Linked DNA regions of Homo sapiens: all the other regions are linked to region 6. The links are contacts of gene promoters, found by promoter capture Hi-C in blood cells and fetal thymus (Javierre and others, 2016). All regions are on one chromosome and are shown on one strand. The core of a region is centred on a gene start or on the middle of the fragment in contact, and the rest is flanking DNA. Distances in the headings are between cores, read along the strand shown. Region 1 has its middle 8.1 kb from the start of OR5M1. Region 2 holds the start of OR5AP2 (olfactory receptor family 5 subfamily AP member 2). Region 3 holds the start of MIR6128 (microRNA 6128). Region 4 has its middle 18 kb from the start of OR9G4. Region 5 has its middle 21 kb from the start of MIR6128. Region 6 holds the start of OR5I1 (olfactory receptor family 5 subfamily I member 1).

Region 1 (4,773 bases), core at 537-3,036, 690 kb before region 6:
TTTTTTTTTTCCTTCTCACCGTTAACCTTACCCTCATTTTTATCCAATTCTCTTGACACTCTCCTCTTAGTAATAATTGTATTAAGTAATTAAAGACATAGAAGAGTATATTTTCTTGTGCCAAATTCTAAGGCTCTAGTTCTGGAGAAGGTAAACAAGTTAGTGGAAAAATGTATGTTTTTGAATTCCAAGATTTGACTAAAACTCAACTTGTAAGCCTACTCTAAGTCTCAGCTGTGTCATGAATAATGGATCTGTAACTAATGAGAGGGCTATTTGCAGAGCCTGCCTGACCTCCTCGTATATCACTAGTTACCTGTTGTCTTCATCAGAGAGTCTGAGGCCTGTCTGTCTATGGTTTTGTTTTACCATGACAATTCTTATGGCCACTACTAATTTCATTTTATGTTCAAAAGAGGAAATAGGAAATCACACAAATTTCTTATGAGTTCTTGATTCTCAGAACTGTCAGACTTACTTGTGAAGGAATAGTAATTTCTTATCCTACTCAAAAGTCCCCAGTGTGGGAGGATTTATACTGAATGACTAATCTCGGTAGACTCATTCCTGAAGCATTAGATAAGAAACCCACAGGATATCATTAGGGCTCCCTCTGGAGGCGTTTACAAAAGTCACATCATAATGGATAGAATCCTAATTTAGATGTACATAGTATCTTTCAGTAAATGCAAAAACACTTGGTACAGATTTTGATGTTGGGATTAATTCTAGAGCAGATAGAAAGGTGTTCCATTCTTGGTAATCAAAAGACTTTTGCCGTGACTCTGCACATTATATCCTCAGCTAAAATAGTCTTTTGCTTTTCTGAAAACCTTTGTTGGTTTTTTCTGCCACTCTTGCAATATATGCTTTCTTTTATAACTATTCTATTACTCCTATGAATTGTAAATGCTCTGAGGATAAAGCTAACATCAATTTCATCTTGATAATTCCTATGGAAATCTGCACAACACTTTGGGTGTACAGTTAATATTTGGTGAAGGGTTATTGAGTAAATAACTGAACAGTGGTAATTAGTTTAAACAAAATTAGTTCAAGTACACTTACTGCCATGGGCTACTTATACAAAGATATGTATAATTTATGATTGCAGAGATATGTTAATTCATATAATGTTTAATCTTTGGGTCTGAAGTAGATTAACATTTGAAATCAAAGTCCTACTACTTCTGGGTCAGATTCATAATAATACTATTATAAATAAAAATAAAATAATATAATAGTATTATATCTTTCATTAGGGCTAAAACAATCTTCCTCTCCTGCGCTCTAGTACCGTTAATTTTTGACGTTAAAAAATGTAGATTATGACAGAGAGAAAATCCAAACCCAAGTCCTGGTTCTTCGGCCTGGACACACTAATGAATGGAGAGGAACAACAACAACAAAAAAACTTAGAAGCTTTCTCTGAGACAAGCTATCCCAATCTCCCTTGCCCAGGCTTTGGCCCTGAATCAACTTGTTGAGTAGCTAAAGCAAAGTCAACTTTGGGATTAGCTTATTTGGGCAGCTATGATCACAGCTATTTCCACAGTTTCTTCAGTTTCCATGTGGCATAGACAGTACTTAAACTTCCAAACTTCCAGCATGTCCCTAGTAGGTGAACATGCAAATAGCTAAGATTTGATGACCTGGACGTATTGCACCAGTGAAGCTGAGTCCTACACAGCTGACTTCCCAGGCCATTTCCGAATGGATATAAGGGGCAGACCTAAGGGAGGTCTGTAAGTCTTTAAAACCAAGGTGCAACTGGGTCATCAGGGAAGATAAGAAGGCTATGGCTATATTCAGCCAAGAGAGTGAAATGACTCTGAGGTACATTTATCATGGTGGATGACAGCAAAGCAAAACTGTCACCAGGCAGATTAGAGGTCAAGAAAGACCGGAGAGCAGCAACTGGATGCATTTCTAGGCCTCCCTTCCTTACCAATAGAGGCCTCGCAAGTTACAGAACGGAAAAAGGGATTAAAATTTTAATGACTGGATATTTACCTAAAGAGAAAGACAAACCAAAAGAGTTATTTCAATCATTGACCATTTTAAGTCCAAAGCTGCTTTGTAAAAGAAAGCCATAGATCACAAGTTCATGTAACATGTAATTGGGTCCTGACATATAGACACAAGCTTTTGCAACAATTAAAGTTTTGTTCACTATAAGTCTTTTTTGGAAAAGAGAGAGAAACATTCAAATTATTTACATACCAGTTTCCATTAGCATGTGAAGAACAAACAGAAACACTTTTCAGGGTGAACAAAATTCCTGCTACAGTTATAAAATCCTGCATATACTCTTTACTTTGTGATTCTGAAAAACACCGTTCTACCTGGTTTATTGAAATGTGTGAAAGCTCTAATGCAATGTTATTTTTTACATTTTGTAACACTTAAGTCATAAAGCCAAGCTATTCTCAAACCTTGATGAAACATGTTGGAAGAAATTATGTTTTAGTGTTTGGTGAAAACATTATGTTTCGTCACTTAAGGTGATAAATTGTACTCATTAAAGAACTTTGAAAGTTCACACACAGCCAATGGTTTAAAATGCACTAATTTAGATTCCCAATTCTCACAAAGGCCAGTTACTCTGGACCATTCAATCGCCAAAGAGGAAAACTGGGGGCATTCCCATCCCGGGATATGGGAAGTCCCCGAGCTTCCAGCCTGGTCCTTGTGGCCGAAAAATGGCATGTTTTGCTTTTGCTTTTGGATCCTGTTCGTGCCGCCAAAAATGTTCTGTGTGGGGAAAGTGCGAGGGGAGAGAAAAGACACGGACATGATACGTTTAAGGGTAAACAACGTTTATCCCATGTAAGTGGCCATGCAGATATAGTAAGCAAATGATATAATAATAAGCAAATGATATAATAAGCAGATTGATATAATAAGTAGATTGCAATGGAACGGGGAAAAGGGAAAATACATCTACATTCACCAGACTATGGAGGATTCAACAACAGACTGGGACGCAACAGCCTGGGCTCCAGAGTCAGATAGGTAGGCAAAGAGATCCTAGTTCTATACAGATACGTACCATGGAGCAGTTCCACTTTCCTAAGCACATTCAGTTGTGATAAAAATAGATGAGTTTCAAGGGCTGATACATTACATGCCACACTCAAAGTTGTGTTGTTAAACAAAGAATTACAATTTCAAATAAAAGCAATGTTTACAACCATGGGTTCAAGAGAAGTCTAAGTGAACACATATAATAAAGACTTGCAAAATAATAAAAGATAAGGCTCTTTAACTATCAAAAGACTTGCAGAAAAGAACCACAGAAAACCATTTTAAATATAACTGCCTTCGTATGTAAGAAATTCTACATTATTTTTGATGTTAAAACATCAATCTCATGCTTACTAGGCTATTTCTTAATGACACATGTATTTACAAATTTGAGAGAAGAGGAAGAAATATCAGGTGACACCACTGGGTTAATGCATAAATGACAAACCTAAATGCATTTTAATTTCCTTTTCTTTAAATCGAGCTGAGCTTCAGCCCCTTCTTTTTGTGGTGTTCTTAGTCATCTACCTTATCACAGTAATCACAATGTAAGCATGATCTTCTTTTTTTTTTTTAAGTGCACAATATTTTTAACTGTTAACAATATACCTATTGTTACCTATGGGCACAATGATATACAGCATATCTCTAGAATTTATTCTTGCAAAACTATAACTTTATACCTGCTGAACAGCAACACCCCATTTCTCCCTTTCCTCCAGCCGCTGCAACCACCTTCTATTCTCTGTTTCTATGAGTTTGACTATTTTGGATTCCTCATATAAATTTAATCATGCAGTATTTGTCCTTCCGTGCCTGGCTTATTTCACTTAACATAATGTCCTCCAGGTTCATCATATGACAGGATTTCTTCTTTTTCTTAATGATGAATAATATTCCATTACATGTGTGTACTACATTTTCTTCATCTTTCAATGGACATTTAGGTTGTTTCTATATCTGGACTATTGTAAATAATGGTGCAATGAACATAAGAGTACCTATGTCTCTTCAAGAGCTTGATTTAAATTCTTTTGGATATATGCCCAGAAGTGCAATTGCTGGTTTATATGATAATTCGATTTTTAATTATTTGAAGACTCATCATACTGTTTTTTATAGTGGCTGCACAATTTTATATTCCCACCAATGTTGTACAAGGGTTCCAATTTCTTCATATGTCACCAATATTTGTTGTCTTTTGGATTTTTTTAAAATAAAGTAACAGCCATCATAACAAATGTGATATCATGCTTTTGTTTCATATGCATTTTCCTGATGATTAGTGTGTTGAGCACCTTTTCATTTTTATTTATTTATTTATTTATACTCTAAGTTCTGGGATACATCTGCAGAACACGCAGGTTTGTTACATAGGTATACATGTGCCATGGTGGTTTGCTGCGCCCATTAACCTGTCATCTACATTAGGTATTTCTGCTAATACTATCCCTCCCCCAGCCCCCGACCCCCTGACAGGTCCTGGTGTGTGATGTTTCCCTTCCTGTGTCCATGTGTGTGAGCATGAGCTTCTTAATAAGAAGTGATTCAACACTACACACTCCAATGTGCTTGTTCCTCAGTCATCTCTCCTTTGTAGATCTCTATTATGCCACCAATGCCACTCCTCCGATGCTGGTTAACTTTTTTTTTCCAAGAGAAAAACCGTTTCCTTTATTGGTTGCTTTATCCAATTTCACCTTTTCATTGCACTGGTGATCACAGATTATCATATGCTCACAGTGA
Region 2 (4,610 bases), core at 1,387-3,886, 710 kb before region 6:
TTTGCACATGTCAATACTTAACGTTTTACTCATCATTACTTACGTTGTATGTTTAGCACATATAAGACATTTTATTCTGTGCAATATTTCTGTTAATACTCAGAGAGACTTTCTGTTTGAGAAGGAGAGAAGAAAGATCTATTCCTTTTTTTTTTCATTTCTTCTAAAGATGCTGTTCTTTGAAGTTCAGACAGCAAGATTGCTTCAAGAAAGAGGACCTAGGCTGTGCGCCTATGCCAGTGAAATACAGACAGAGGCATTGTCACATAATTTAGCATCAAGAGGCCTACATTCTAGCTCAGGATTCACCACTGATTGGCTGAGAAACCCCCACACTTTGCTGGCCTCATCTAACAAAAGACTATATTACTTATACTCTTGGGATATTACCTGATAATTTCTTTCACTGATTTGTGGTAAGGCTTATATAAGATAATGGGTGCAATGACACTTTTCAAAATTGTTATGGAATTCTTTCAAAATGTCAGCTTTAATTATTGATTAGGGCATTGAGTCCCTATCTCAATGACAATTAGGTGGAGCCCAGCATAAATAGCTGCTTCTGTGTATGGCACTGTCTGTGATAATAGGACCAGTTGCTGCCCACTGTTTCCCTCACTGTTTTCAGAAACTTCTTTATCTTCAATGCTGGCAAGGGTACTGGGTCACTTTGACCCCGTTTGTGTGTGTGTTTTTTCTTTTTTTTTTTTTTGAGACAGAGTCTTGCTCTGTCACCCAGGCTGGAGTGCAGTGGCGCAATCTCGGCTCACTGCAAGCTCCGCCTCCTGGATTCACGCCATTCTCCTGCCTCAGCCTCCTGAGTAGCTGGGACTACAGGCGCCTGCCACCACGCCTGGCTAATTTTTTGTATTTTTAGTAGAGACAGGGTTTCACCGTGTTAGCCAGGATGGTTTCGATTTCCTGACCTCGTGATCCGCCCGCCTCGGCCTCCCAAAGTGCTGGGATTACAGGTGTGAGCCACCGTGCCCGGCCGACCCCATGTTTTAATTTAAACAGTATCAAATAACTTTTTTCTGTGAGTAGCAAAGGATATAACTCTGTCTTACCTTCTGAGCTATATTTTGACAGTTAGCCTAGTAAGTTTAAACTTTTGTTTAATAATCTGAGATCATGGAAGGGGTGGAGGATTTGCGTTAAATTGGAGGAGAATTCCGCTGGTGGTGTTTACATTTTGATTTGGAAGATCTAGTTTGGGCATCTATTCTGAATTTTCTTTTTTATTTCTTTTACTTTTCTTATCCTATGTTTGTCTTCATTACACCTTGCAAAGGGTGACTCTTATTTCCATTTTGATTACTTGGTATTAAATTATTCCCTTGATTAAGTATGGTGGCTGAAAAATTGCATGTGCTACTTCTGATGTTTTCTGGTTCTCTTGAGAACTTGTGAATGTGAGTATTAGAGATTTTCACTGGCTTGGCTACTTCTGCCATTTTTATCGGGGATGCCTACTCATTCTTACAATCTGATTCTCTAAATATTGGAATGAATTGTGGAAAATTACTATTTAACTGACCCTATTCTGTTCTCTGTAGATGTTTATTATGGAAAATCAGAGTGGGGTTCGAACTGTACTGGCTGTGTGGGAATATTCTCTATTTTCTTCTTTGGCCAGGCATTTTTAAGCTCTTCCTCTACCCCAAGAGATTCTGCTGTTTTTCTTTCTTTCTTTCTTTTCTCTTTCTTTCCTTCTCTCTTTCTTTCTTTCCTTTCTTTCTTTTTTCCTTCCTTCCTTCCTTCCTTCCTTCCTTCCTTCCTTCCTTCCTTCCTTCCTTCTCTCTCTCCTTCCTTCCTTCTTTCTTTCTTTCTTTGTTTCCTTCTTTCTTTCTTTCTCTTTTTTTTTTTTTTTTGGCACCGTCTCACTCTACTGCACAGGCTGGAGTGGTGCAGTGGTGCAAACCCAGCTCAGTGCAGCCTCAAACTCCTGGGGTCAAGCAATCCTCCCACCTCAGCCTCCTGAGTAGCTGAGACCACAGGGATGAGCCACCACACATAGCTTTTTTTTTTTTTTTTTTTAAATATTGCAGAGAGGAGATTTTGCCACATTGCCCAGGCTGGTCTTTAACTCTTGAGCTCAAGTGATCTGCCTTGCCTTGGTCTCTCAAAGTACTGGGATTACAGTTGTAAGCCACCAGGCCCAGCCCAACTATTTTTCTTGTCTGGCACTATAGATTAATTTTATTAACTTTCAATATTTTTATTCATTCTATTAGTACTGAGGAGGAATTGTAAGTGTCCTGAATTCATTCTATCATCCTTCTCCAGAAGTTGTGTCTGGAGGGTATGTCAGTATATATAAATTAATTTATTTATCACAAGTAATTATGACAGTCACATCTTAAGAATAAGTTATTTTAATTATTCAATAAAGAGTTAACTGTAGGAATGACCATAGTTAATACACACTAAATCACTTGCTTCAGTCATTAGTAGACAGCACATCTAGTACTACAAGTCTTTTGATTTGGCATCAAATCCAACATACCTTTTATTATGCTTTTCACTTTTTGCTCTTCTGTTAGAAGTTGTTTCACTAAAAATATATTATAGCTCCATCATGTATTCATCTGACTAAATTCCACTGTGCATCTTCTTTCTTATTGCAGCTCAAATGATGAGACTTATGAAAGAGGTTCGAGGCAGAAATCAAACAGAAGTAACAGAATTTCTCCTCTTAGGACTTTCCGACAATCCAGATCTACAAGGAGTCCTCTTTGCATTGTTTCTGTTGATCTATATGGCAAACATGGTGGGCAATTTGGGGATGATTGTATTGATTAAGATTGATCTCTGTCTCCACACCCCCATGTATTTCTTTCTCAGTAGCCTCTCTTTTGTAGATGCCTCTTACTCTTCTTCCGTCACTCCCAAGATGCTGGTGAACCTCATGGCTGAGAATAAGGCCATTTCTTTTCATGGATGTGCTGCCCAGTTCTACTTCTTTGGCTCCTTCCTGGGGACTGAGTGCTTCCTGTTGGCCATGATGGCATATGACCGCTATGCAGCCATTTGGAACCCCCTGCTCTACCCAGTTCTCGTGTCTGGGAGAATTTGCTTTTTGCTAATAGCTACCTCCTTCTTAGCAGGTTGTGGAAATGCAGCCATACATACAGGGATGACTTTTAGGTTGTCCTTTTGTGGTTCTAATAGGATCAACCATTTCTACTGTGACACCCCGCCACTGCTCAAACTCTCTTGCTCTGATACCCACTTCAATGGCATTGTGATCATGGCATTCTCAAGTTTTATTGTCATCAGCTGTGTTATGATTGTCCTCATTTCCTACCTGTGTATCTTCATTGCCGTCTTGAAGATGCCTTCGTTAGAGGGCAGGCACAAAGCCTTCTCCACCTGTGCCTCTTACCTCATGGCTGTCACCATATTCTTTGGAACAATCCTCTTCATGTACTTGCGCCCTACATCTAGCTACTCAATGGAGCAAGACAAGGTTGTCTCTGTCTTTTATACAGTAATAATCCCTGTGCTAAATCCCCTCATCTATAGTTTAAAAAATAAGGATGTAAAAAAGGCCCTAAAGAAGATCTTATGGAAACACATCTTGTAGAGCCATGTTACCCATCATTTGTTACGTAGAAGAAAATACATTTTCATGTTAACTGTATTCTCTGATTGTTTAAGCTGTTTCTCTGTGTTAAAGTAGATAATTTAAAATGAAGTATACTTTTTAATATCCTAGTATCTCATATATATATACACACACACACACGGGTCCCTTTGATGCACCAATACACTAGATGAAGGTTGGGACTGGAAAAAGTATCAAAACACTTGGAATTGGCTAATCTGGACTTAAGTTTTAATTTAAATATTAAGCTTATCTCAGTCTGAGTTTTATTATACAAACATTGGTGTCTTTGGGTTCTGGGCAAACAAACTGAGACAGAGAGATATTTTTAGGCAGAAAGTTTATCAGAGTGTTCTCACAAACAATATATAGTGAGGGGAGCAGGATTGGACAGAAGGAGTTGAATTGTGACGAAGACTGAGCCACTGTTACATGGCGTTCTGCAGAGATGTCCTTCAGAGATGTCCCAAATTAAGAAAAAAGGAACAAGTATTTGTACCTCCACAATAGCCAATTTTTGGACATGATCACCCACTGAGAGGGGGTAATATTATCTTGGACAAGGCAATTCCCTTCAGCAGGGGAAATTCCTGGAGTGTAGGTCAGCTATCAGCTGTCAGTGGCCTATATGCCTGGAAGCTGGGGAAATGAATACTTCAACCTGAGAGGCAAATCTGGGTAGTGTGGGCCGGGCGCGGTGGCTCACGCCTGTAATCCCAGCACTTTGGGAGGCCGAGGCGGGCGGATCACGAGGTCAGGAGATCGAGACCATCCCGGCTAAAACGGTGAAACCCCGTCTCTACTAAAAATACAAAAAATTAGCCGGGCGTAGTGGCGGGCGCCTGTAGTCCCAGCTACTTGGGAGGCTGAGGCAGGAGAATGGCGTGAACCCGGGAGGCGGAGCTTGCAGTGAGCCGAGATCCCGCCACTGCACTCCAGCCTGGGCGACAGAGCGAGACTCCGTCTCAAAAAAAAAAAAAAAAAAAAAAATCTGGGTAGTGTG
Region 3 (4,956 bases), core at 111-2,610, 810 kb before region 6:
GTGTACCACCACGCCTGGCTGATTTTTAGTAGAGACAGGATTTTGCTATGTTGGTCAGGCTGGTTCTGAACTCCTGGCCTTGAGTGATCCTCCTGCCTCAGCCTCCTAAAGTGCTGGGATTACAGGTGTGAGCCACCGCACCTGGCACGTAACAATTTCTATAAGAGATTTTAGCAAATTGGAATCATGGAAGTTTGGTGCTGAGAATAGGATCAACCAAAATTTTCAGATGGGTGAATTGTGTTCCTGAGATGAGGTATTACTTTCCTAAATCATACAGTGATTAGTGTCAGGGATATGTACCAAATATTGGACCCCACAATCCTAAACCCTATAACTCCTTTGCCAAGTTACATGGAAATAGTTGACAAAAATATTAAATTCTAGGATTTTAGCAAGATACTGGACGATACCACTATTCTGGCTGAAATTGCTTATTTGTATAAACTTAGTCTATTTATTTATGTTTTGCAAGCTCAGAATTTATAATTAAGTTAGATAATTATCCTCCCATTCAGAATAATGATAGTTAAAATTTTGTAGATTGATGTTCTGTCCAGAAAATGGGCTGTTTTCTTAACATGGATGTTTTCTCGCCCTTTTGGAGGTAAATACACGTAGGTGGGGAATTGTTAAGATACTTTTCCAAGATTATGGAACTACCAAGTAAGAAGGTCTGGGTTTGAACTCAGATGCCATATCACTTGGGCAATTCTGCCTATGCCAGACCTGTCTTTTCTCACCTGGGCGTGCTCATGTCTGTGGGTAGCTCTTAGCGCCACTGTAGGCTGGATCATATAGAAGGGCCCCACCTGCATGTTTGGGGGACAACTTGCAGTCAGCTGGGGTGACAGAGTGAGCGCAGCCAGATGTCTTATCCAGCAAACTAACCCAGGCTTATTTACATGGTGGTGGTAGGATTTTAAAAGTGAGAAGAGAAACATAAAAAGCTTCTTGAAATCCAGGCTTTGAATCCACATGGAGCTGCCTATCTTTCAATCTATTGGCCAAAGCAAACCACCAAGCCATCCAAGACTCAAGGGGTTAGGTATAAGACTTAGAATAGTAACTGGTACATGGTCATAATGTATTTATATTTGTAATATAAATAGCAACTTTAATAATCTAATACTTAACAATACAAATACTTGACACGTAAGAAGTTTTCAATAACTTATAGAAAGATAGTGAAATTTTTTGAGTGCCCACTAATGTACCCAATATTGGGCTGTGTTATTTTTATGTATGTTTTATTTATTCAATCAGACAGTCTGTCAAGAAGTTACTAGTCGGCCAGGTGCGATGGCTCACGCCTGTAATCCCAGCACTTTGGGAGGCTGAGGCGGGTGGATCACCTAAGGTCAGGAGTTTGAGACGAGCATGGCCAACATGGTAAAACACCATTTTTAGTAGAGTTGGTGTGGTGGTAGGTGCCCGTAATCCCAGCTACTCAGGAGGCTGAGGCAGGAGAATTGCTTGAACCTAGGAGGCAGAAGTTGCAGTGAATGGAGATCACGCCACTGTATTCCAGCATGGGTGACAGAGTGAGATTCCATCTCAAAAAAAAAAGAAGAAGTAATTAGTTATCCTTGTGAGTTTCATTTTTTTTTCATGTTTGATGAGAATATGGGTCTTGTCCTGCATTAAATAGTTAATAAATAAAATTCCTAATTTTCAAATTATTTTTGACTCCAATTCCAGTAATTTTTCCAAATCATGGACTGAAGTCCTATAATTCTAGATAGTAAGGGAGAAAAATCTACAAGCTTCTTAGTAATTGTTGATTTAATTGATACCCTTGTCAACTTGTGTGAATAGAAAAAACACTAAGTGATGATTTTCCCTTCTCATGATAGTCAGGCTTTCACCTCCGTGGACATGGAAGTGGGAAATTGCACCATCCTGACTGAATTCATCTTGTTGGGTTTCTCAGCAGATTCCCAGTGGCAGCCGATTCTATTTGGAGTGTTTCTGATGCTCTATTTGATAACCTTGTCAGGAAACATGACCTTGGTTATCTTAATCCGAACTGATTCCCACTTGCATACACCTATGTACTTTTTCATTGGCAATCTGTCTTTTTTGGATTTCTGGTATACCTCTGTGTATACCCCCAAAATCCTGGCCAGTTGTGTCTCAGAAGATAAGCGCATTTCCTTGGCTGGATGTGGGGCTCAGCTGTTTTTTTCCTGTGTTGTAGCCTACACTGAATGCTATCTCCTGGCAGCCATGGCATATGACCGCCATGCAGCAATTTGTAACCCATTGCTTTATTCAGGTACCATGTCCACCGCCCTCTGTACTGGGCTTGTTGCTGGCTCCTACATAGGAGGATTTTTGAATGCCATAGCCCATACTGCCAATACATTCCGCCTGCATTTTTGTGGTAAAAATATCATTGACCACTTTTTCTGTGATGCACCACCATTGGTAAAAATGTCCTGTACAAACACCAGGGTCTACGAAAAAGTCCTGCTTGGTGTGGTGGGCTTCACAGTACTCTCCAGCATTCTTGCTATCCTGATTTCCTATGTCAACATCCTCCTGGCTATCCTGAGAATCCACTCAGCTTCAGGAAGACACAAGGCATTCTCCACCTGTGCTTCCCACCTCATCTCAGTCATGCTCTTCTATGGATCATTGTTGTTTATGTATTCAAGGCCTAGTTCCACCTACTCCCTAGAGAGGGACAAAGTAGCTGCTCTGTTCTACACCGTGATCAACCCACTGCTCAACCCTCTCATCTATAGCCTGAGAAACAAAGATATCAAAGAGGCCTTCAGGAAAGCAACACAGACTATACAACCACAAACATGAAGGTTATTCTCTTTGCAAATGCTGTTATTGAATTTTCCAGATTATTGGCTTATAAATGTGTTCATTTGCATTTCTGTAGTTCAATTAAGTTCAATAAGTCATATTTAAAACATTAAAATATTGACCACATGACTCCTTGTTATTCGTTTGTTATGATGTAAACAAAACAAAGTAATATTTAAAACTTATAATATTGGGTTGTTTGGCATTCTGCAATATGGTATTTTGCCTTGGCAGCATTAAATCTTTCATAGATTTCATTGTGTTTGCTCCCTTTGGGAGATCTTGGGGAACAAAATAAATTACGTGGGTTAATGAATATAGTTTGACTTTGAAGTTTGGTAAGCAATCTTTACTAGGTGACAAGAATATCTGAAAGGGTGAGGCTTCTGGAAATATGCTCAAGATTTTACAAATATTTATTTTAAGAAAATCATTTCCTCAAAATTTCTTCAGAAAGCTCTAATTGAGCATATAGGGAGTATCTTTGTAAAACTCATGCCTTCTACATAAAGAGAATATTAGGAAGATGTTTAAGAGTTGTTCAGATTACAAACAACAATGACAACAAAAAACTATCTCAAAATTAATGAATAAATATGTGTCTTTAGAATTGCATATCATCCTAACAGTCTTCTCTCTTACAAGGAGTGAGTACTCCGCAGTACTCTCTCTCAGGTCACACAGCGATGTGACAACATCAAACGAAATAAAACAAATGAACAACAATAGTAACCACTGTTCCCTAGTTACCTTTCTCTTTCCTTTGTCCTGACCAAAAGACATAAGCTGCATGTTTGTCCCTGGCCTGAACCTAGCCTGGGCCTTGAACATTCCTAAGAACTGGTAAACTTGTTTAGATCGATGCCTGAAACCCTGAAAAATCAAACATGTTGCTAACCACATGGAAACTAGCCTTGGCCTCGAGCCCAATTCCCTAAACCCTGATATAAACTCCATAACTGAACCCCCTTGTGATGGCAGGTTGGGTTGATATTTCATTTAGTAGCCTTTAGAAGATGGCAAGTTAAGGATTAATGGTTACAATTTTCAAATCACAAGCTTGCAGCTCAGAGGTTAGCAACTTTGTTGAGGAAAGGTTATAACATTTGCTGGAATTAGCACATTTAAAAAATTAATTAAATTTTGAAAATTTAGGACAAATAGTTGTAGCCATTTCATTTGTCTTTACTTGACATTTCTCAACTTTCTCTTCAGCTGCATTTATTTTCCAACACATCCTACCTCTTTCCATCAAAATAATCTTAACATTCTTATTCCTCTATCACAAAGGAAGCTGTTTGAGTACTTGACTAGAAGGATTTGGGGTGTATCCCGCAAATATCAATGATCCATATTATGTTTTCTTTTCATCTCCATAATAGTCACTATGTAGGAAAAATAATTGGGTCAATATTATGGGAAAGAACATCGTAAAAATTTAATTTCACTTTAGGATATCAGAATAATTACTTTTCCATTTTGCATTAATCGGAGATACTGAATTTTAAAAACTGTATCAGTATTCAATTGAATCTACAATACTGTAGTATATATTATAGTCTGATCTCAAAATCATAACAAACAAACGAAACACAAAGAAACACAATTTTTCTTGTTGAATTTTGTTCAATGGTAAAAAAGAAATAAAAATCCAGTTCTGTAACCTCTCTGAGCAGTTTGTCATCACTTAGCATTGATTTGAGAACATTATGGCAATTCAGACTTTGGATTATGCTGACTTGAAGAATTTTTTCAGAGCGTCTTTCATGTCTTTATTCCTCAGACTGTAGATCATGGGATTCAACATGGGGAACAGCATAGTATAAAAGGTAGAAACCATTTTGTCCCTCTTGAGGGAGTAGCTGGAACTTGGCCGGGAGTAGTTGTAGAGAATGGAGCCATAGTATAAGGTAACGGAGATCAGGTGGGAGGAGCATGTGGAGAAGACTTTGATGCGGCCCTGGGTAGAGTGGATCCTCAGGATGGTGGTGATGATGGAGAGGTAAGAGGCAAGGATGAGCACAGTAGGGGAGATGACATTGGAGGCCAGAAGGAAGTGCAGCACAGCCTGGTAGCTCTCACACTGCATGCCAGCTTCACGAGGGGTGGGACATCACAGAAAAAGTCATCAATGAC
Region 4 (4,307 bases), core at 203-2,702, 830 kb before region 6:
GACTAATTGCTGCAAGTTTCTTCTGCTTCCCTGCTGTGGCTAGTCTTCCCTCTGCCATTTCTTCCCAAACCTGCAAACCAGCCTATCTTATCCAGAGCCACCCACAGCATAGTTGAGGCCAGTCTGCAACTTCTAATGAGTCTTTATTAAAGACTGGGTATAATAAGAGAAAAACATGTAATTCTGGGAACATTTTGGAGCTATGACATGGCTTACCCTGAGCCTACAGGTAGATTGCTCCATGGGCTTCAGAAAGACAAGTCTCATCAGAACAAAGGAGTCAATTCATAGATTATTTTGCCAAAGGTTTAGTGATTTAGTCTTGAACAACATTACGTGTGGGTCTCCACAGTCAAGTCTTGGTTGAGTTCAGCCAAACTGTACAGTCTTGTCTTCATTTAAAGGTGCTTCCTGTAGAGTTTCAAACCATAATTTTTAAATAAGAATCTAATTCAAGGAGAACACAATGAATTGGCCACAATTTAGAGGGATATTGCTATCTAAATTCTTTCTTACAAAAGAATCATTTCTCCCAATCGCTATCTTTCAAACATGTCCCACAGAAGGAAATATAGAAAGACCCAGTAGAGTCATACAAATATACAACTGGAAGAAGAGTTCCACAAAATATACTTAGTTTTACTCCTTCAATACACTTTAAATATTCTGCTTCAGAAATCAGCAGACTATGATTTGTGTATCAAATCCAGCTTGACACCTGTGTTTGTACAACTTGCAAGTCAGGAATGGTTTTTACATTCTTAAATGATTGGAAACAGTCAAAAGGAGAATATTTTATGACTCATGAAAATTATTTGTAATTTAGATTTTAGCATCCATAAAAAAAGTTTTGCTGGAACACAACCATCTTTATATTAGAATCTCTCAACAACAGTTCTACTGACATTTTGGCCTGGATAACTCTTAATTGTGGGGATATCCTTTGCATTGTAAGACATTTAACCACATTCTGCCCTCTGCATTAGATGCCTTTAACACCCCTCATTCCAGGTGTGATAACCAAAAATGTATCCACATGTAAGGTAATAATATATAAACCACAACTACTGATTTATGAATAGTCCTTGGATGCTTTGGGACTACAAGGGCAGTGTGGGGTTCCTCTATTTTTCCCATTTTTTCTTTGTCTTGACCAAAAAATATGGAGTATCTTGATTGCTCTTGTGACCTTACCAGCTCCATGTTTTTCCCTGCATACTTGAACTCAAGCTTGGACATTTCCAGGCACTGATACACTTGTTTAGGTTGTTGTCTCAGATACGAAAAGAAACTAGCCCTGGTCCTGAGATGAATTCTTTAAACTGTCCTATAAATTCCATAACCCAACACATTCATTGGGCATATGCCCAGCAGAACCTCCCTTTCTCTTGCCATCTGTCATGAGGATTGCTGCAGCACTTTGTAAATTTCTCTAATAAATGCTTTGGATGGATCACCCTGGTGTTTAGTGTTTCTATCTTTGGAATCCCAATTGGCCCCATCTTGGGAGGGTTTTGGGCACTCCTTTTTGAGACCTCCCCTGCAGTCACTTTTGGGGTTACTCTAGCCTCAGGTTTGGATGGATGAAACAAATAGAGCTGAGTAGTTGTCACATAAACAGTATGCCAGCAAAGCCTAAAATGCTTTCTATATGGGCCTTTATAGAAAAGCTTGACAACCATGTTTTATGTATTTATTGTATCGCATTCCTTTAAATAATGCTAGTCATAACCTACTAAGATGATTTCATTTCCCGGTAATAGAACTCAAACTGCAGCTTGAGAAATTCTATTTCTATGTAGCTTTAGAGAGACAGTATACTAAGTATTGGATAAGAGCATGTGCCTTAGAGCCACATATATCAAATCTTGACTGTGCTACTTGATAGCTGTGTGGAGATGGGCAGATTACTTAACCTCTCTGAGCTTCCATAACCTCCTATGTAGAGAGAAGGTGATAATAATAGTAGTTAAGCAGTTAATTTTTGTAAAAGGTCTAGCACAGTGCTTTGGTACATAATGAGCACTAGTGGTTTGCTATTATTATTGGTGCTTAACATATTTCATGTTATGGTAAAATAATGAAGAGCATTTTTAATATATGAACATAACACTGGAGGAATTAGGAGAGAACTAGGGTGTCTAAATGGAGCTAGTTCAGACATTTCATTAATTTTAACATATAATGTAACAAAAAATATAAAATATAAAATGATTAGGAAGATGATTTTATTTATCTATTTTTTATTTATTTTATTTTATTATTATTTTTTTAAGACAGAGTTTCGCTCTTGTGGCCCAGGCTGGAGTGCAATGGCACAATCTTGGCTCACTGCAACCTCCACCTCCTGGGTTCAAGTGATTCTGCTGCCTCAGCCTCCCGAATAGCTGGGATTACAGGCGCCTGCCACCTGTAATTTTTTTATTTTTAGTATAGGCAGGGTTTCAGCATGTTGGCCAGACTGGTCTCGAGCTCCTGACCCCAGGTGATCTGCCCACCTTGGCCTCCCAAAGTGCTGGGATTACGGGCATGAGCCACTGCACCCGATCAGATGATTTTAATTCATATACAAATTAGAAACAAATTTTCTCCAATTTTTGAAGGAGAAATTTGAGTTTTCTTCCATAAGTACAACAGTTTTTACCTTAGGTTTTATGATTGAAATGACTATGAACAATTCTGGATGAATAATTTTTAATCACAATTTGAAAATTAAGTTTTATGGAATTCAAATTTTTAAGGGAGCTGAAACTCAACTTAAAGAAATGATATTTAAAGCTGTTCTTCACTTATCTTGACTGTGTTATTTCACAATGTATAGGCATATAAAAATATCAAGTTGTACACAATAAATATGTATGATCTTTAGTTTATATGTATTTAATGTGTCTAAAATAAAAACAATCTTCATTTTCTCTTTTTGATAAATGAAAGTTGAGATTTCTTGTTATAATGAAAATGGATTTAAAATGCAATCTAATGCTTACATATTATGTATTTAAAAATCAGATGAATGTCTAATTTGCTGAATGTTCACTAGTTGTTAGTCATGCTGCAGCCTAGACATCAGTAAAGTGACACATCAGAAGAAAGGTACAAACATATCTAATAACAATGAAGATGAATTTGGGAGTCCAGGTGGAGCTGCATTTGCCAGGAGACACTATCAGCTCCACCTATCAACCAATTTTTGCCTGGCTGTATCTCCACCGACACTCGGAACATGTACATGTCCTGCAGCGTCATGGTCCCTTATCACAATGGGGCCATCGGGGTAATTGCTTTTCTGCAACATGCACATTGTAGCAAAGCAGAGAGCAGAGCCATGGATGCTGGATTAGCCTCTATGGGGACCATCAGCTCAGCATCAGACCTTCTCTGTTGTCTTTCTGGAGTGCCTGAGGAAGCTGCCACGGCCAGAGCTTTCCACACCAGGTGGCCAGCTGCTCCATTTTAGTTCCGATATTTCTTGGGGCACCTATAATTTGTATGCTGATGGAAAGCTCTTTTTGTTCATCACTATTCCTCTAGCAGAATGCCTGCTACGGAGTAGGCACTTAGTAAGATTTGTTGAGCGAATGTTTATAAACTGGCCAGTATCTTACATGACCATATTCATCCTTATCTCAAAAGAAAATCTTTGATTTCTCTTTGTGTGGTTAAAAAGCTGACTCACATTCATAGCAGCATTGTTTGTCATAGCTAAAATGTAGAAACAATGCAAATATCCATTCAGGGATGAGTAGATAAAAAATGTAATACTATATATGTGCAATGGAATAGTGTTCAGTCTTAAGAAGAAATTCAGACACATATTCCACAACACGGATAAACTTTAAAAACACTGTACCAAGTGAAATAAACCAGACACAAAAGAAGAAATATTATATAATTCCATTTGTATGAGGTACCTAGAGTAGTCATATTCATAGAGTCAGAAAATAGAATAGTGGTTACCAGGGTCTGAAAGTAGGGGACAATGTGGAGTAATTGTTTAAAGAGCAGAGAAAGTTTCAGTTTGGGAAGATGAAAAATTCCTGGAGATTAGATGGTGGTGATGGCTGCACACAATGTCAATGTATGTAATGCCACTGAATTAAAAATGAATTGACACTTAAAATAGTTAACTTTGAATTAACACTGAATTAACTCTTGTAATGGTTAAAATGGTAAATTTTATGTTATGAATATTTTATTACACACACAAACTGGGTGAGAGTGACAGTGGGCTAAACTATAATATCAATGGACATATGTTGAACTCTTTCTATGCCCCAGGCACATTAAATGCATAATTTCACTTGGTT
Region 5 (4,652 bases), core at 1,774-4,273, 790 kb before region 6:
AATCTACAATGAGCTCAAACAAATTTACAAGAAAAAAAACAAACAACTCCATCAAAAAGTGGGCGAAGGACATGAACAGACACTTCTCCAAAGAAGACATTTATGCAGCCAAAAAACACATGAAAAAATGCTCATCATCACTGGCCATCAGAGAAATGCAAATCAAAACCACAATGAGATGCCATCTCACACCAGTTAGAATGGCAATCATTAAAAAGTCAGGAAACAACAGGTGCTGGAGAGGATGTGGAGAAATAGGAACACTTTTACACTGCTGGTGGGACTGTAAACTAGTTCAACCATTGTGGAAGTCAGTGTGGCGATTCCTCAGGGATCTAGAACTAGAAATACCATTTGACCCAGCCATCCCATTACTGGGTATATAACCAAAGGACTATAAATCATGCTGCTATAAAGACACATGCACACGTATGTTTATTGCGGCATTATTCACAATAGCAAAGACTTGGAACCAACCCAAATGTCCAACAATGATAGACTGGATTAAGAAAATGTGGCACATATACACCATGGAATACTATGCAGCCATAGAAAAGGATGAGTTCATGTCCTTTGTAGGCACATGGATGAAATTGGAAATCATCATTCTCAGTAAACTATCGCAAGAACAAAAAACCAAACACCGCATATTCTCACTCATAGGTGGGAATTGAACAATGAGATCTCATGGACACAGGAAGAGGAATATCACATTCTGGGGACTGTTGTGGGGTGGGGGGAGGGATAGCATTGGGAGGTATACCTAATGCTAGATGACGAGTTAGTGGGTGCAGCGCACCAGCATTGCACATGTATACATATGTAACTAACCTGCACAATGTGCACATGTACCCTAAAACTTAAAGTATAATTAAAAAAAAAATAAATAAGACAGTGGCACACTAGCACAATAAAGAACAGTGCTGGCAAAAAAAAAAAAAAAGAAATTAACAAATGTAAAGATTTGCTGCATAAAGTTATAAATTTTATTCTTTTTAATTTTAAAGTTATAAATTTTATTCTTTTTAATTTTAAAGTCATAAATTTTATTCTTTTTAATTTTAAAGTTACAAATTTTATAAGATGATCTATAAACAGATCTACATTTGAATCCTAATGGCAACAATTTCTATAATAGGGACCTTGGAAAACTCATTTAAATTGCTTTAATTTTATTTCTTATCTATTAAATGGGATAATAATTTCCTCATATGATGGTAGAAAAATAATGTGCTTAGTTTATCGTAACTAATGATGTTACAGTGTTGTAAAGCAATGGATTGCTTTTTTTTTTTTTTTTTTTTGAGACAGAGTCTCGCTCTGTTGCCCAGTCTGGAGTGCAGTGGTGCGATCTCGGCAGCTCACTGAGACCTCTGCCTCCCAGGCTCAAGTGACTCTCCTGCATCAGCCTCCCCAGTAGCTGGGATTACAGGCATGTGCCACCACACTCGGCTACTTTTTTTGTATTTTTAGTAGAGACAAGGTTTAACCATGATGGCCAGGTTGGTCTCAAACTGCTGACCTCAAGTGATCTGCCTGCTTCAGCCTTCCAAAATGCTGGGATGGATTGTTTTTTTATGTAAAATATTTCAATGTATTAAATTTTTATATATTATCACCTACTGACAGTTTGATGTACTTTCTTCTCCTATCAGCATTCTCTTCTCCATCCCATCACCAGTAGCCTTTGCTCAATAGTTCACAGGTCTAACTATTCTTAGGGAGCCCAGGGTGATGCTCTTTCCCTTTGACTCTTCCATCCCTTCGTTCACATATTTTGCTCTGAGGTTCATTACTCAGAAAAGATAATTGAGTTTTATTGAGCTCAGCTACCTCTGAGACTGTTAAGAAAAGTATATAATTCTTCTCACTGGAAAAAACAATGCTCATAATACACCCTGGGACACACACACACACACACACACAAAAAAATGGTAAAACACACATTTCCTTTGTGTTTCCCTGGATACTTACTTATGTACACTGGTAGAGAGGATGGTTTGACAAGCCAACATCTGTATTTCTTAATCAGAACAAGAAGACTATAATAGCTGGCAGGAAGTACTAACCAGCTAACATACTATCCTTCCTAACTAATATTATATTTTTATATTAAAAGCTAAAAGTGCATTCTTCATCCAAAATTATTAAAATACAACTTTTTGTATTTAGAGATATGCTTCTATTGTTAGAGGTTTCCTTAAAATTACCATATGCCTTCACACTTTCTTAAAGAATATCAAACTTTAAAAGCAACATGTTAAGCTTTTCTTGATGTCTTTTGGCCGTTAGACTGATAATATCTTCTATTTAATTCTTTCTTCTCATTCTTGCTCTTGAGATATTAACAAGACTATCTCTTTTGTTAGTGGCTCCTAATCGTTGCCTGTTTGTGCATTTGTTTTTTTTTCTTCCCTTGCAATTTTCTGTGTTGTTAATTGCTCTTTTTTTTGAATCTAATAGTGTGAAATTCTACTTCTGTGTGTGAGCTGCCAGCAGTTTTAGAAATTAAAACAGGAAGATGATGAATATATTTCAAAACAGGGGCAGTGGCTCACACCTGCAATCCCAGCACTTTGGGAGGCTGAGTGTAGGAGTTCAAAACGAGACTGGGTGACAAGGTGAAATCTTGTTTCTACAAAAAATAAAAAAAAAAAATTAGCCAGATGTGATAGGGTGTACCTGTAGTCCATGCTCCTCCAGAAGCTGAGGTGGGAAGATTGCTTGATCTTGGGAGATTGAGGTTGCAGTGAGCCATGAAGGCACCTCCACTGCACTCCAGCCTGGGCAACAGAGTGAGACTCTGTCTCAAGAAAAAAAGAAAAGCTTTCTTTAGCACTTATCATATATTACTATGTAAATGGTTATTGGACTGGTTATGAGGAAGAAGAAAAATTTTCCATCTACATTTAACATTTGAATTAAGCAACTTACCTAAAATTCTCAGCAACACCATCATCTCAATAGAATTTAAGTTTGCCTTTCCCAGATTCTTTTATGTCAGAGTATGAATTCCCAGGGTTACGGATTCCTGAAACCCCTCAGGGTTTCACAATTTGGAGAATAGCTAACAAGGCAATTAAACTAAATTTTGTATTGATGAATTGGGGATTATTACTGAGAAAGGAGGAAAAATTTTGGAGACTATGATTCCCTTGTGAAAAATGTAATTAGTTATAATTTTTATTCTCATTCTCCCTTGAGTTGTGCAGAAGCTTAACTATAATATGTATACACATATATTATGTGTGTTATTAATATTCATATGTTTATATTTGCATATTAAAACACATACGAACTTCCTTACTAATATTTCTGTTGTATGTTGGATGTATCTCATTTTTCCCTCCAAATCCATTCTCCATCCTTCTAAACTCCTTTTTTTGCTCCAGGATGTTCACCTGTATTAATTTGCATCAGTGGGATCTTTGCTTACTATTTAATAGCTTTACCCAATGGTTATCAATGGCAGGGAGGACAGTGAAGGCAGAGAGTTTCCCCCAGGCTCCTTATCTACAGACATGGCACAACTGGTGTATCCATGGCCTTAGACCATAGCTACTAACAGGTGACCCTTTTTCAAAACTCTTTCTTCAGTGCCCATAACCTCTCTCTCTTCTTGTATGATTAAGGATAGAGGTGGTAACAGTGCTCAGAAGTTATTAGTTCTAGGGTGTATTAGTAAGCGTTCTCCAGAGAGACAGAACCAATAGGAGATAGAGAGATAGATAGATAGATAGATAGATAGATAGATAGATAGATAGATAGACAGACATAGAGGTTTACAAGAGGGGGTTTATTAGGAAAATTGGCTCACGTGATTAAGGAGGCTGAGAAGTCCGACAAAAGGCAGACTATATACCGGAGACCCTAGAATTCCAGTAGTGTGGTTCAGTCCAAGTTCAAAGGGCTGAGAACCCAAGAGGCTTGTGGTGTAAATCCTGGAGTTAAAAAGCTAAACAGCCTGGAGTTCTGATATCCAAGGACAGGAGGAGGAGTATATCCCAGCTCCAGAATAGAGACAAACCAATTCACATGTCCTCTGTTTTTATTCTCTCTGGGCCCCCAGTTGATTGGATGGTGTCAACCTGCATTAATTGCAGATCTTCCTCATTTAATCCATTCCATTTCACATGCCAATTTTCTCTGGAAACACCCTCACAGACATACCTTAAAATGATGATTTATTATTTCTCTAGGTATGCCTTAATCCAGTCAAGTTGATACCTAAAATTAACCATTAAATAGGCTTATTCCCAGAATTTCCTTGGAATTACCTACATCACAAATGTTTCTTTGTAGTAATCCCTTTATTAAACCCTGCTCAAATGAACCAATTTTAATGGCCATCTTTACTTGCAAGATTTGTGACTACCACTGGTCCTAGAAGTAGTCCAAGAAGATAAATATTCACAAGGGATTGGGTTGTTTACGTATTTGAAGATTAGGTGGAGAAATATGTGATGGAAGAAATGAGACATTAATAATGTATGAAATCCTGTGACATCAAATTTACATAAATGATCACCAGTGGCATCAAAGTATGAAGGGCAGATCAAGGGCAAGGTATTGAGAGATAAATTTACTGTGACAAAGGCATGAATATAGTGATTATAAATCTTATGTGGTGAGCTGGATTTGCTGAAATTAAA
Region 6 (4,443 bases), core at 1,688-4,187:
CAACCTCCTCGATATTACTGAAAATGAAAATTACCTCTTCAAATTAACACAACAGCATTTCCATGAAAATTATGAATGTGTTTCTAGAGAAAATATTTACATTGGCAATAAGCCTAGTAACTATTCTCTAGGAGTCTCTCAGAAATTAACATGCTTGGAATCCTTCAATTACTAGGTCCCCAGTGACATAAGAATTCATGTAAAAGCCCTTGGTTGTATTGGTGAAATTATTCCCTTAAGCAACTTGCAACAGTTCCTTCCTCAGTAAGTAGCTTCTGCGGTTATTGGACTGGCTTTAATCGTGCAAAAAAAAAAAAAATCAACTTTTGTTGGTCTGAGAGCAAGAACCACTGATTTGAGTACAAATAGTTTTGAAAGTACATTTATCATTCAATATTGTACTGACAAGGTAATCTATCTTTTATCACCCTTTCTGATATAGCTTCCACAGGGTCTAAAATGTCTTTTGTTTAAATAAGCCTTTTGTTACTGATAGGAGAACCAAAGCATATCTACCTACCTTATAACTTGAATTAACTTATTTTATAACATAAGATTGTTTTGTTATGTTTGGAAAGAACTTATTGAATCATAGTATGTTAGTAAGATTTATTTGTTAATTCCCTTTTAAAAAGAAGAATCCAAGAATCACTGTCTTTTCCTACCACTATCCTCATGCCTCTTCTCTTCCTTTTAATATTTCTCTAAATAGAATTTTTTGACTATCAGAAGGAATGACCAATGTGAAGTTGCCAAGAATACATGCCCCACATTTTTGGGAAGTATGCGAACCATAGAATGGTCATACTGTTAATATTCTCCCCGTCCTCATGCTTGCTTTCATGGGCTTTGATTTCATACACCCCTGAGTTTGAATTGCACTGGTCAACTACATGTTGAATGACCTTGAGATACTATCCTAAGCATTAATGTTCTCATCCAAAATATGGAGCTAATAAAAAGAATCCTGTTTATAGAGAACCAGTGTATCATGTGGCTTTGGAGTCAGAATTTTGGGTTCTAATCCTGTTTCCATCACATCCTAAATCTCAAATTCTCTCTTTCTTAGTTTCCTTCATCTGTAAGAAAAAGATCATAATGATAGTAACTCCATGGTAATTTTGTTAGTTTTTTGGTGACAATTAAATGAGTTATAGGTGAAGTGTTAAGAATATTGCATTACACATAGTAAGCATTATACAGGTGACAATTATTGTTAGTAAAATTTGACAGGTAGCTCTAGTCATAATCTAAGAATAAAATGGCAGCGTGGCAATCAAAACTAATTTTTGATGTTATCTACTGTATGTCAGTCTCCCTAAAGAATGACACATGGAAAGATAAGTAGGTAGATAAAGGGACAGAAAGGGGGGGCAGAACATTTTCCCTATTTAATCCATACAGAAACACTATGAGATATTTATTATCATTGTTGTAGTATAGATTAGGATAATTTATATTAAGTGGCACAAGGTCACACAGCCCCCATGCAGCCAAGATGGGCATCTAATCAAATTCCTCCTAAATCGAAGTGATGTCTTATATTGTCTAAATACCTTGACTATTTTCAAACAAGCAAAATGAGAATAACCACTGTCCTGCTGTAGTGCTGCATCTCATTCACACGCTTTGAGGTGATAACATAAGGCAGCACTTTGAGCACGTGATTAACCCTTCTGATTATCAATAGGCTTCTCAGTGTTTATGTCATTGGGTAGTTTTATTGCTTACATGAGATAAATAAATTGTCTTTAGCACTGTCATTGTCATAATATCTATTATGTAAATGAGGCAGTGACTCAAATATTTTTAATTCCCATCTTGGCCCTCTCAACATGAACTTTAGAGATTGATGCTTTGCTTGCTTTTTTTTGTTGTTGTTTTGTTTTTTACGTATTTCCAAGTCTATCCTTCATGGTCAAAATCAAATTATTTGTACTTCAAAGTCAAGTTAAAAATTTTTATAATTCTGTAAGTATTTTGAGACCTCAGAAGCAGTGTTTAACAGATTTTTCTGACTCAACACTTTGTATTATACTACCATAACAATAAATGCAACAATTGTTCTTTACTTATAAAATTTAATCAGTGATGATGCCATATATAGTAATGTTATTTAATTGCAAGTTAACATATAACTAAATGTTTTGCTGACTGTACTTGGTCAGTCCACTAATGTTTAATGAGCATTTCCAGGAAGCCAAGGAGTTCGATAAATGCCAGAAGTATTGAAACAAGTAGTTAACTAATTTTATCAGCTTAGTTTAGTATGTGAACAGGGTTTATGGAATTACACTAAGCTCTTTTCTGTCAAAAATATCCTCAGAGCTGGTATTTACTGACATTTGTTTTTATTTCGCTAAAGCTTCTGCTTTACAGTAAAAAAAAAATTAGCCGGCATATTTCATCACACCACTCTATTTACTCAGTCAAGAGACACAGCATACCGGTATCTATCAAATCCTGAAAACAAGAAGCAGATGTTCTAAAATTCTTATTCAAAGGAACACTCTATAAGTCAGTCCATTTTTAATAATATACATATTTTCTTTACTTAATGTGATCATCAGTCTGTTCATTAATTTATTACTTTTTTAATACTCTGGGCCAGTAATTGTTTAATATTTTGGGTGCAAAATGGTAAGCCAAATCAGACATGATCCATGCACATAGGAAGTCAACTGTTCAATGGAAGAAATAGTAATCAAATAAAATATAACCTGCAACCATGAAATATGATATTACTAAATTCTGAAATATATTTCTCAGAGTTTATAGTTCAAAAAAGTTTGAGCTTGCTTTCTTTATCTTATTGCCATTTATTTATTTTTAAACAATAAAATAACTTTATAATTACATCTAATTATTTTTCTTTTTTCATCATTATAGCATTGTAGGGTATTAGAAATTCTCATAAAAGGAAAACAACACAGAAGATGGAATTTACAGATAGAAACTACACGTTGGTCACTGAGTTTATTCTATTAGGTTTTCCAACTCGCCCTGAACTGCAGATTGTCCTGTTCCTCATGTTTCTGACATTGTATGCTATAATTCTGATAGGGAACATTGGATTGATGCTGTTGATCAGGATTGATCCTCACCTTCAAACCCCCATGTATTTTTTCCTTAGCAACCTATCATTTGTAGACCTTTGCTATTTCTCAGACATTGTTCCCAAAATGCTGGTCAATTTCCTCTCGGAGAACAAATCTATTTCCTATTATGGGTGTGCCCTGCAGTTTTATTTTTTCTGTACTTTTGCAGATACAGAATCCTTCATCCTGGCCGCCATGGCCTATGATCGCTATGTCGCCATCTGTAACCCTTTATTGTACACAGTTGTGATGTCTAGGGGCATCTGTATGCGGTTGATTGTCTTGTCATACCTTGGAGGCAACATGAGTTCCCTGGTTCACACATCCTTTGCCTTTATTCTGAAATATTGTGACAAAAATGTTATTAATCATTTTTTCTGTGACCTCCCTCCCCTGCTTAAACTATCCTGCACTGACACAACAATTAATGAGTGGCTCCTCTCCACATACGGCAGCTCAGTGGAAATCATTTGTTTTATCATCATCATCATCTCCTACTTTTTCATTCTTCTCTCAGTCTTAAAGATCCGCTCTTTCAGTGGGAGGAAGAAGACCTTTTCTACATGCGCCTCTCACCTGACTTCAGTGACGATCTACCAAGGGACTCTCCTCTTTATTTACTCACGGCCCAGCTACCTGTATTCTCCAAACACTGATAAAATTATCTCAGTGTTCTACACCATTTTCATTCCAGTGCTGAATCCGTTGATTTATAGTTTGAGAAATAAAGATGTAAAGGATGCAGCTGAGAAAGTTCTAAGATCAAAGGTAGATTCTTCATGAGATAAAGCATCTCAAGATACATCTAATTTCTCAATCACATACTGTAATTGGGAACTTACAACAACCTTACCTGTACACACACACAACCTCTCACACTAGGGATTTTATCAAGCACTTTGTTTAATGCAGCCAAATGAATTTCATAGTCCTAAAATATTTTTAAAATCATTTAAAAGTTTCAAAGTTCCTGCTAAATGCTAGTTATACTACTTTTCAGTTATTACTAGCTTGAGATTTATGCTAAAATCAATTTCATCAAGCCATCTTAAGGGATATAGTAAATATTTCAGAAAAGTATGCATGCATGTACATGTGCGTATCTATCTGTAGAATATCTCAGTTATAAGTGTAGATTACTGGATAACTGGATAAGAAAATAAGTCAGATTGCTTTGATTTATATGCCAGATCTATACTTGGCTAGTGAGTGGCATATTGAATGAGTTGCTTAATTTTTCTATGCCTCATTTATCTGTAAAATGGGATGAATATTGCACATATGCTATTGATTGTTTGATGGTGAACAGAGTTAATACAGTTAAGAGCTGAGAATAGTGCCTGGA

The links. Contacts are between HindIII fragments. The CHiCAGO score rates a contact against its expected background, and 5 or more counts as called.
Region 1: a fragment that was not itself captured here is called in contact with the fragment with the promoter of OR5I1 in region 6 in 1 of 17 cell types (endothelial precursors); the score reaches 5.7 in endothelial precursors.
Region 2: the fragment with the promoter of OR5AP2 here is called in contact with the fragment with the promoter of OR5I1 in region 6 in 2 of 17 cell types (erythroblasts and megakaryocytes); the score reaches 5.9 in erythroblasts.
Region 3: a fragment that was not itself captured here is called in contact with the fragment with the promoter of OR5I1 in region 6 in 1 of 17 cell types (erythroblasts); the score reaches 5.2 in erythroblasts.
Region 4: a fragment that was not itself captured here is called in contact with the fragment with the promoter of OR5I1 in region 6 in 4 of 17 cell types (M1 macrophages, M0 macrophages, M2 macrophages and 1 more); the score reaches 8.5 in M1 macrophages.
Region 5: a contact is called between a fragment that was not itself captured here and the fragment with the promoter of OR5I1 in region 6, in 2 of 17 cell types (M2 macrophages and endothelial precursors). The highest score is 8.0, in M2 macrophages.

Annotation. Positions count from the first base shown.
Region 1 is chr11:56,620,583-56,625,355 of GRCh38, reverse strand. It overlaps the pseudogene OR5AM1P. Among named protein-coding and RNA genes, the nearest start is that of OR5M1, 8.1 kb to the right of the region's middle. RefSeq lists an enhancer at 1-659. The HindIII fragment of the contact is 723 bases long and covers 1,425-2,147 here.
Region 2 is chr11:56,640,465-56,645,074 of GRCh38, reverse strand. OR5AP2 (olfactory receptor family 5 subfamily AP member 2) reads left to right here and starts at 2,636. Exons shown (of 1, transcript NM_001002925.1): 1 at 2,636-3,586. The coding sequence starts at 2,636. The coding sequence ends at 3,586. The HindIII fragment of the contact is 8,469 bases long and covers 1-3,857 here.
Region 3 is chr11:56,740,689-56,745,644 of GRCh38, reverse strand. It overlaps OR9G4 (olfactory receptor family 9 subfamily G member 4), which reads left to right. Exons shown (of 2, transcript NM_001005284.2): 2 at 1,857-4,422. The coding sequence starts at 1,879. The coding sequence ends at 2,817. It overlaps MIR6128 (microRNA 6128), which reads right to left and starts at 1,772; the gene lies at 1,664-1,772. It also overlaps the pseudogene OR9G3P. The HindIII fragment of the contact is 816 bases long and covers 953-1,768 here.
Region 4 is chr11:56,764,524-56,768,830 of GRCh38, reverse strand. No RefSeq gene overlaps it. Among named protein-coding and RNA genes, the nearest start is that of OR9G4, 18 kb to the right of the region's middle. The HindIII fragment of the contact is 440 bases long and covers 1,233-1,672 here.
Region 5 is chr11:56,720,986-56,725,637 of GRCh38, reverse strand. No RefSeq gene overlaps it. Among named protein-coding and RNA genes, the nearest start is that of MIR6128, 21 kb to the left of the region's middle. The HindIII fragment of the contact is 389 bases long and covers 2,829-3,217 here.
Region 6 is chr11:55,934,894-55,939,336 of GRCh38, reverse strand. OR5I1 (olfactory receptor family 5 subfamily I member 1) reads left to right here and starts at 2,937. Exons shown (of 1, transcript NM_006637.1): 1 at 2,937-3,881. The coding sequence starts at 2,937. The coding sequence ends at 3,881. The HindIII fragment of the contact is 3,136 bases long and covers 2,368-4,443 here.